Linked DNA regions of Homo sapiens: regions 1 and 3 are each linked to region 2. Evidence: promoter capture Hi-C in human tissues and cell types (Jung and others, 2019). All regions are on one chromosome and are shown on one strand. Each heading gives the region's core, a stretch centred on a gene start or on the middle of the fragment in contact. The rest is flanking DNA. Distances are from core to core; before and after follow the strand shown. Region 1 overlaps DELEC1 (deleted in esophageal cancer 1). Region 2 holds the start of TNC (tenascin C). Region 3 overlaps DELEC1 (deleted in esophageal cancer 1).

Evidence for each region. Contacts are between HindIII fragments. The study calls those that stand out against the background at their distance.
Region 1: a fragment that was not itself captured here is called in contact with the fragment with the promoter of TNC in region 2 in 1 of the 25 tissues and cell types used here (mesenchymal stem cells).
Region 3: a contact is called between a fragment that was not itself captured here and the fragment with the promoter of TNC in region 2, in 2 of the 25 tissues and cell types used here (aorta and mesenchymal stem cells).

What each region holds. Positions count from the first base shown.
Region 1 is chr9:115,301,009-115,304,048 of GRCh38, forward strand. The region is part of intron 3 of DELEC1 (deleted in esophageal cancer 1); the gene reads left to right. Among named protein-coding and RNA genes, the nearest start is that of DELEC1, 160 kb to the left of the region's middle. The HindIII fragment of the contact is 3,347 bases long and covers 1-2,938 here.
Region 2 is chr9:115,116,792-115,120,068 of GRCh38, forward strand. It overlaps TNC (tenascin C), which reads right to left and starts at 1,366. Exons shown (of 28, transcript NM_002160.4): 1 at 1,191-1,366. All of the region lies in intron 2 of LOC124902255 (a long non-coding RNA gene), which reads left to right. It overlaps LOC101928748 (a long non-coding RNA gene), which reads right to left. Exons shown (of 6, transcript NR_110950.1): 6 at 2,748-2,917. RefSeq lists an enhancer at 1,645-2,464. The HindIII fragment of the contact is 7,931 bases long and covers 1-3,277 here.
Region 3 is chr9:115,339,373-115,342,902 of GRCh38, forward strand. The region is part of intron 4 of DELEC1 (deleted in esophageal cancer 1); the gene reads left to right. Among named protein-coding and RNA genes, the nearest start is that of DELEC1, 200 kb to the left of the region's middle. The HindIII fragment of the contact is 5,724 bases long and covers 1-3,530 here.

The DNA.
Region 1 (3,040 bases), core at 15-2,514, 180 kb after region 2:
TGTGATCAATTCTTGGCTCCCAAACCCAAAAGGGATGTGGAAATCTGGTGGGAACTGTAAAGGCCTGGAATATAAGACTTATGTGCACAGATGAAAGGCAGCAGGCTTGTTCAGCTGGGAGGAACTGTAGGATGGCTTAATTATAACCTCCTGGTCTATAGCGAGTTCTTAGATCACTGATGAGGTAAACCCGCTGCTGGATCCCAAGCTGGGAGCTACAGCAAGGACTCAAACCTATTTATCTTTTATTTTTCTATGGTGTTTGGGATGCAGCTCTGAATAAAGTGGTGGCTGAGGAAACTGATTCAGCAACTGCATTTCCAGATCCTTTTACAGCAGAAAGAGCTTAACTTTGGGGTAATTCAAACCTGAGTTTGAATTCCAATTACACAAATTACAAACTGTAACTTTGGATATTTCAACTGCGTACATTGTAATTTTCTTAACTATAAAATAAGGTTAAAATATTGACCACATAGGGCTATTTTGGGGAATGAGAGAGAGAGAGAGAGTAGGAGTAGTCTCTTATCTAGTACAGAGCCTGGTAAGTTCTTTAAGTATTTTCAGAGTGAAGGATTAGATAAAGCTATGGAGAACGTTTAGACAGACTATGGTAGACAAGCTAGTAGGGTGATTTGACGTCTCAATTTGCCTTGGATGGTGCTAGCTTAAAAATTCAGCAGGCATGCAAAAGGGTCTCAGATTGAAGGGACAAAGTGATTTCCCTGTAGCCTCTGAATAACTTAAGCTCTGTGGTTTGCAGGAACTTAGTGATGTGGTCATGCATAGTGTGCGTGTGTGTGTGTGCGTGCGCATGTGTGCATGTATGTAATATCTTATGTCTACTACTCTGATGTCTTTTGAGCTTCTTGGAAACTTGGATAATATCTAATTTATCTCTTCATTTCTCTTTATCCCTAAATCAGCAAATGTGTGAGGAGAACCAATGGTAATTATATGCCTTGTATAATATGAGAACAGATGGAAAAATAAACAAACACCAAATCTCACTTCCTCCTGTTGCTTACCTTTTAGTGGCAGTGTCAGATTTTTCTCCTGGACTCCTTCTCCTAACTATAATTTAAAAAATGTATTTCATCATGCAACTTATTTATTTTAAAAATCTAAAGTATTACAGATAACATGGAAGCTCTTATCCCTAATATCATTCCCCCTTCTCTAAAGGCAATCACCAATATGAATTTTATTGTGTATCATTGCAGCCCCCATTTTCTATGTTTATTATGAGATATATCCACTAATAATACATATGGTTGCTATTTCTTACCTATTTACAGAACTATTTCATACTACAGTTTTTAACAACTTGTTTCCCCTTTGTTACTCAAGATTGCATTTTTGATATCCATTCATGTCTTTACACATAGATCTAATTAATTCATTTTGATTTTTGTTATTGTAAATTCCATGAATATATTACAATTTATTTACTCATTCTTTCTCCACTGAAGGACATAAAGATTGTTTCCAATTTTTCTTCATTGTAAACAGACACTGCTATAATGAACATTCTGGTTTATGTGCAGGCATTTCTCTGAAGTAGAATGAGAAGTCATTGGGCATGCACATTTTAACAATTTCACGATCTACAGTCAAATTGCTCTCCAAAGTGATTGTACTAATTTAGACTCCCACCAGCAGGGTAGGAAAGTTCAGTTTTCTCATGTCTTTACCAACAGTTGCTATTGACAGACTCTTTAATGCTTGTCAAACTATTTGGTGTAAAATGCTTCACTGTTGTTTTAATTTGCATTTCCTTTATTTCTAGTGAGGATAATAATCTATTCATATGTTCACTGGCTCTTCTGAATTGCCTGTTCCCATCAATTGCCAACTTCTGTGTTATATTGTTGGTTCGTTTAAACTGATACATAATTTCTCTACCTATTCAAGATAATCTGTGTTTGTTTTACACGTGTGTTTGTTTTACACGTTACAGACATATTTTCTAAGCCTGCCATTTTTTTAAGTATGTTTCATGGTGTGCTTCGTAATGGGGAAAATCTTAATTTTGATGCACTTGGTTTTATCAATGCTTTCCTATAAATTGCTAGTGTTTGAGAGTTTTCTAAGAAATTTGATTTTTATCTCTTAGTCAAAAATTGTTATCCTACATTCTCTTCTAATTAAAAAATCCCATTTGCAGTTTTATTTAGTTATTTTTGTCTATAAAGTGAGTTCCGAATGGGAAACCAGGTCATTTACTGCACTTTTTTCCTTCCCACTGATTTATAATGCCACCTCTGTCATACACCAGGCTCATATGTGTTTCAGCTTATTTAAGGGCTTCAAATTTTATTTCATTAACTTGACTTTTTCTCTGCTCCAATATCATTCTTTTAATTTTATGACTTTAAACTGTTTTCATGGATAGGTAGTCAAGTTCTAGCTCATTTTTTCCCCTCCCCTCAGAATTATCTTTGCTGATCTTTGTTGTTTGCATATTCAAATGGAGTTTAGAATAAGTGCGTAGAGTTCTGAGAGAGAAATCTTGTTGAGATTTTATCTGAAACCTCATTAATTAAATATATTGATGATTTGGATCAAGTTAATAGCTTTGTGATTTTAAATATCTCCACTCATGGAAATGGCACAACTCTCCATATATTTTGTTTCCCTTATGCTGCTTATTTCATAATTTTGTATACAAATTTTTGCATATATGTATTTTTAAATTTATTCATAAACACCTTTTTTTGCTTTTATGCCTGTACTTATATTGCATTATTACTGATATGTATATATTCTTCCACCCTTGTGAGATCTTAGAGTGACTTTGCTAGTTTAGTCAGTTTTTCTTAGATTTATTATATTGAGGACCTTATATATGATCTCTAAATATATACTGATAAGCTTAAATTCTTAAGTATCATTTATTTTTCTTGCCTTATTACGTAATTAGGGCATCCAGTTGACTAGTAAAAGTAATTATAAAGACTCTACTATTTTCTTTTCTTGACTTTAATAGAAATGCTTTTAAAGCTTCATCATTCATTATTATATCTATAGTAGTTTTTCG
Region 2 (3,277 bases), core at 116-2,615:
CAACACAACCTCCTGCTTGTAAAATACAGCCAAGTCTCAGACCTGCCAGCCTAGTGAGACACCCTCAGATTGGGTGAGATAAAAAGCGGGGGCTGGGGGCGGGCTGAGGAACAACACACAAGAAACAATCCAAGACTGGCTCAATGCCTCTTTTAACTTCCAGAGTGATGGCAGTTTTTGGCAATGACAATGATTATCCAAACTTCCAGTTATTAAGCAGTCATTGCTGATCTTTCTATACCTCATTTTCTCCTCAAAACGACAGCAGACGCTATTGTCCCCATTTTAGAGATGTGAAAACTGAGGATTAAGGAAGTGATGTATCTTTCTCAGGGTCATATGTATGGTGGTGGGGAGAATACCAAACACCTCTGGCTTCAAACCTAAGCTCTTATTCCTCTTACAACACTGATGGGTGAGAAGAACCCCTGTGTTCTTTCCAAAGTACACCAGGGGCAGCAGGGTTCCCATACCTGGGGGATGTTGTTGCTCAGATCTTTCTGTGATGAGAGGTGAGGAGGAGGAGGTGATTCTAGAGACATGTGGGACGCTGCTGGCTCTAGGCACCCCAGTAAAGCTGTTCTCCACCACTCTCTAGCTGCCTGTCAGTTATTCATCTGGCCCAGGAGCCACCTCCTCTCTTCTGTCCCCCAGCTCTCATTTCCAGGGTGAATATTTTGAGGACCAAATGAGGGAATGGGTACAAAACTCTTTGTAAACTTTATGTAAGTGCTGTTTAGATATAAACTTTTATATTCTCCCTGCACTCCTCTATCAAACTCCCTCTAACCCATCCCAGGGGCAGGCTATGAGCAAAGTCTGCCTTAAAACTCTACTGCCCTAACCCTCAAAATAAAAGATATATACAGGTGAATCAGCCAGACTAGAAGTAGGAGAGCAGTTGAAGAGAAAATTTTTACTTTTCCTCTGCAGAACAGCAGAAGATAACAACTTTACGAAAAGTTCCTTCCAAGTCTGACTATTCATAAAGTTAAAACAAACAAAATTACAAGACCAGAAAAGTCAAGGTGCATCTGATATAACCAATACACACTCCTTTTTTTTCCAGCGGTGGAAAAAAAAACCCCATATGTTTTGTAATTATAATATAAAATCACAACTCATTTGGTACCAGGAATGCAATCCTTACATCATAAGGATCTCTAGTGATGAGGGCAAAACAGACTTACCTTTCCGATGGGCGAGAGACCTAGGTCCTTGGAAGAAGTACCTGGAGTGTGGAGCTGCGGCGGTTCCCACGTGCGCGTTCCCCCGAGTTCCCCAGCAGCGCTGCCTTTGTGCCCACGGAGGCGGGGGCGTGTATCTGCGCGCGGGAGAGGCGGGTGACAGTAGGCAGGCTGTGGCCGGTGCAGCCAACTTTGGCTGGCTTATATAGCGAGCTCCTTCCTCTGTAATGGGACGCCTCGCCTCCAGACATCCTTTCCCACTTTTTCAGTTGGCGAATTAAAGGAACAGCCCTCCCAGCGGAACAGGGTTAGCTCATGAAAGACGCACTCACTCCTGGCTCTCGGCCAGGGAAGGAACCCATTTGCATACAATTTATGGCGAAAGTAGGAATTCCCGCCTGCCCGCCCCCGACCCCGAGTAGCTGTTAGTGAAATGTGATTTTTGCTTTGCTCCCCACACGGGTTTTCTAATTGTGAGACGGATGCCTGGGGAGCAAGAGGGAGTAGGATCCGCAGCCCTGGCTCCCCTCTTGTACTTGGTCAAGCTGGAAATGGGACCAGGGCTCGCCTGGGCTCTGGGCAGCAGCTGCTCAGTGGCACCTCGGAGCGAGTACAGGGACTGAGCCCAGTTCCTGGAAAGAGGAGATAAAGCCCTTCAAAAGCCTGGGGGGTTTCAGGTTTCTCTGGGCCAGCGGAGAGATAACCCAGGATTAGGTCTCAGCAGGTGGGGATCGTGCGGGACGCTCACATCAGCCCTGCTTTTCTTGTGTGGGAGCCAGCCTTGCCCAGCTGCTGGGAGGCATCTTTGTTCCAGCCCCAGTGTCCTGCAGGGCAGTAGCTTTTTGACATTGTTCATGCCCTGTGCCTGGTGTGGTCTTCTCAGCTGGGTCTCCAGGGGGAAGGATTTCTGAGGTTTTCTCTTAGTGCTGAAAGGCGTCCCCCACAGCCCTTTCTTTAAAGAAAAGCAATAATTTAAAAAGGTAACAACCTAATCCTTGAGCCATAAGCTGCGCCTTTGCTTTCCAGCCTGCCGTGGATTTCCTCCAAGCTCTGAGTCATCCGTTCGTTTGGTGGTTAGCATGCATTGAGTATCCTCAGGGCATACAGGGGCATTTAAGGGAGTGGAGAAGTAGCACTTCACCCGTGCCTAGAGACTTCTGAGCCTGCCGCAGAGCATAGTAGTTTGTGACAGTGAAGTAAAATGAAGCATTAAATGTAATTCAAAACGCAACTACCATTGAGCCCTCCCTTATTAAGTCTATAATCAGGTGCTGTGCAGGGTACTTTATGAACACTATTTTTGTTCACTATTTTTATTATATCCTTGTAACCAGTAAGTAGGATAGACACAAGTGTCTCTTTTTTACACAAGAAAACTGACGTTTAGAGAAGTAATGAAACTTTACCAAGGGAATACACCTGGGAAGTGTTTATATTACAACACTGGGCTCCAGAGATCTATTACACGTTACTGTTTAGGAATAGGGTATGATGATATTTAAACAATGTTTTATGCTGTATTAGATTGTTAACACCATTTGTGTAGAAATCACAGCCATATTTGAATATGGAAAATATATTTATTTGCTCCATAAAGCTAATTAGGAGAGATCTTTGATTTTTAAAAATTAACTACTAATAATGGAGGTCTCAATTATCCACTTATTTTCAATATTAAATGATATCATCCCCACAGTTATTATTGTTGCTGTGGGCCTCAGTTTCCCCATCTGAAAAAAAAAGCAAGACACGATTAGGTCATCCTACGGTTGCTTTGGCTGTAGTATTTTAGGATTCTCTGCTAAAGTGACCCTCCCAGACAGCAAGAAAGCCCATAAATAGTCATGTCATAAAACCGCTCATTTGAACTTTTGATCCATTTTGGCTGATTCAAATGTTGGTTGTTTGGGAAGTTTTAAATTCTGTGCTTTAGCCAAAGGATATTTCAGTAGCATGAAGCTGTGTCTCAACCAGCAGTGAGTGGTTCCTACTGAGTTAATCTCTTGGGTTAGGGATTAAAATATTAGAATAGTGTACAATATATGTCATATGGTATATAAACTATATTTGTATAGAACATATAATCAATA
Region 3 (3,530 bases), core at 163-2,662, 220 kb after region 2:
ATTAGTCCATAAGCACCAAGAGACAAAATCCATGTCTGCTTTCCTCACTGTGGTATCTTTTGAACTTATCACAGAACCTGGAAAATACCAAGTTATAAACATATTCTGAATGAAATAATACAAACGAATCAATGAATGAATGATGGATAAATGCAGTGTACTATAATAATGATGTAAGGAACCACTTCTAAGCACACAGAAAGCATAAGACAAATGTTCAAGACACACATGCACCTGTAAAATGAGTCTCTGATCAGGATAGCTGCTCCAATCATGGGACATTAGACACTTGGTCTTCCTGAGAATTACTCATTGGTAAGCACTTTACAGTTTATGAGCTTCTCTCACTTGCATTATCTCACATGATCCACCCAGCAGTATTGAATTGGAAGAATTATCAGTTCCAATTGCAAATGAAAAAAAAAAGAAAAAGGCCCATGGAGACATTGTAATGACCCAAGGTGTCACAGAGACTGAGTGGGAGGGTTAGCATTTTTTTTTTTTCTTTTTGAGATGGAGTCTCGCTCTGTCACCCAGGCTGGAGTGCAGTGGCACGATCTCGGCTCACTGCAAGCTGCGCCTTCTGGGTTCACGCCATTCTCCTGCCTCAGCCTCCCGAGTAGTTGGGACTCCAGGCGCCCGCCACCACGCCTGGCTAATTTTTTTGTATTTTTAGTAGGGACAGAGTTTCACCATGTTAGCCAGGAGGGTCTCGATCTCCTGACCTCATGATCTGCCCACCTCAGCCTCCCAAAGTGCTGGGATTACAGGTGTGAGCCACCGCGCCTGGCCAGGGTTAGCATTTAAATCCATGTTTTTAATTCTGAAGACATTTTTCTCCATACCTTGATGTCCTTCAGACAGATAGGCATTTACTAAGCACCGACTCTGCTATGTGCCAGGGATATGCAGATAAAATTGATTCTCTGTATGGACGCAAATAGATAAATAGACAGAATGGGTCCATACCTAGTGTGGAAGGAGTTGCAAGGAGTGGGCAACTTAGTCGGTTCTAGGACTGGCTCGAAGTCTGGAACCAGAGGACACAGAGCCAGGCAGGGGCAGCACCTCCCTTACAGACAGGGCTAATCCCTGGCAAGTCAGGGCTGTGGAGTGCTTGGGGAATGACCTCAGAGACAGACAGGGAGGGCCCTGGTCTTGCCTGCTTAGCTGCCGACAGTCCCAGATCCTAAGGTGGCCCAGTAACAGCAGGGGGACAGGGGGACCTGCCCTCGGTCCTCAATTTTTTCATGGTCCTTGCCTCCCTTCCAAGCCCCTCTACTATCCTGGCACCATTTCTTCCTGGGCACCTAACGCAGACCTCATCCTCTGTCCTCTTTAGTTTTTATTAAAGAGACAGCTGATGAGGACTTAGAGTGCTACCCCTGCAGAGGAACAGAGAAGGGAGGTGTGTGGTGAGAAGAGGTTTGGTCAATGTGTGATTTTTCTTGCAATGCCCCTTTATCAACCTGAGGTAAGGGCACTTTGGGTACTTTGGTTTGGGTTGAGAAGATAATTTGGGATATGTTGGGTGAATGATTTGAAATGAAGCAGTCAGACCATTTAAGAACACGGGCTTTGGAATCAGAGATCTGAGTTCAAATATGAGTTTCACTGCTTCACTTCCTGATTATGCCACCTCAGGCAGGTTACTTGACATTGCTGTGTCTCACTTTTATCATTTGCATCTGCAAAATAATTGTCCTAAAAACCAATTCATAGAGTTGGCTCAAGGACACAGCTGGTACCAAGTGAATGATGGTCATACATGTATGTGTGTGTGCATGTGTGTGTGTGTGTGTGTGAGAGAGAGAGAGACAGAGAAAGGGAGGGAGGAAGAGAGTGTGTGTTTTTGCATATGACTTAGCATTTATTGAGTACTTCTTTGGTAGAAACTATGCTAATTGTCATGTGTATATGATTATCTGATACAGATTTTATTAAACCCATTTTACAGATGAGAAAAATGGAAGCTCAGACAACTTAAGTAATTTGACTCAGGTCAAATGGCTAGAAAGTGCAGACCCAGGATTTGAGATTTAAATCAGGTTTCTTGATGCCAAAGCACCTGCGTATGGGTAGTCTTTCTAATACACAGCAAAGTGGAAGCTGTCTCTCTTGACCTTGAGCCACTCCTTGCGGCAAAGTTTCCAGTTAACATGAAACCCAATCAGATTCCCCAAAATAGCAGCCTGTTCCTCTAGGGAGAAGAGGAGCCCCACCCAAAGCTTGCTCCAGAGTCTTGGAGGAAAGAAAAAGGAGGGAGCAGAGAGTCTTGCTTAAAAATGTGACACATATTTTCCAGGAGCTGCCTCCAGGCCTGGGATGGAGATTCTGAGCATCATGATTTTAAACTTTTTACTTAATTTTTCATTCTTGCTTCAGGCCTGGGCAAGCTGGACTCTCGAGTCTTGAACAAAAATGGAAAAATAAGGGCTGCAGTTGAAATCATTTCACTGTGCCTATTTCACATGATGCTGCCTGCAAAAAATATAGCAAACAAGATTCCTCTGTTCAGTTTATCTCCAGAAAGAGGGAACCTGCATGGAGAAACTGTAAGGAGTGAGAGAGAGGTTTCGGAGAAAGATGAGCTTTAGCTTTGCAAAGGTGGGATTTGTTTTGCACAGTAAATTTCTGGAATTATTTCATTTGATTTCCCATTGTTTGAGTGTACTGGGTGGTACACCTTGTGCTAGGCACTGGAGGAGCTCTTAGAGGATTTAAAGAGTCATAATCTCTAAGTGATATGAGTAGTGGGGTTTGTTCAAAGAAGAGAACTAGCAAAGAGCAGGGCATAATGAACTAACTATAGGTCAATTTTCTCCTCTTTCAAGTCCTAGTTTAAACACAGAATACAAAATATGTCTTTCAAAATGATCATCTTTCACTAAAGGAAGCTGATTAAATGTACAGGTGCAGCCTCTAGACCTTCCTCACATGCTTTTCTCTAGCTGGAAGCAGAGCAATGCAATTTACATGGGCACTGTGATCAATTCTTAACATGGGGATTGTGAAGCACTCAAAGAGACTTGATTGGATTAAAGACTGATAAATCTTTCCTTTAAGTTTTCTGAAAATGATAAAAAGAAAACAAACAAACAAAAAAAAGAAATAAAATCTACTCCATCTTCCGTGAACGTGGAAATAGCTATAACCCTGAACCACAGACTTTGATATATTCCTACTTAGCACCACGAAATCTTGTTATGGACCTGAAACTGGGTGCAGATTTTCCTAGAAGTGCCACAATCCTCAAAAGACCATTCAGTGGTCCTTTGATTAAAGTAGAAGAATTTAAAATTGTGGCAAGCCATGGAAGAAGAGAGATAATGCTATAAAAAACCACTGGTCTGGAGATGGACGCTATATCATGATATTTGTAACTGATTGTGATTTAGCCCACCTAGATGGTCACTGCATCTCTGGGGAAAAGAAAGGTGGAGGATGACATGAAAATAGCGTTCACCGAATGACAAGCCAGAAGGCTTGTGTATACAGAGATAGCATGGAAGCCAAACTGATCTTCCAAA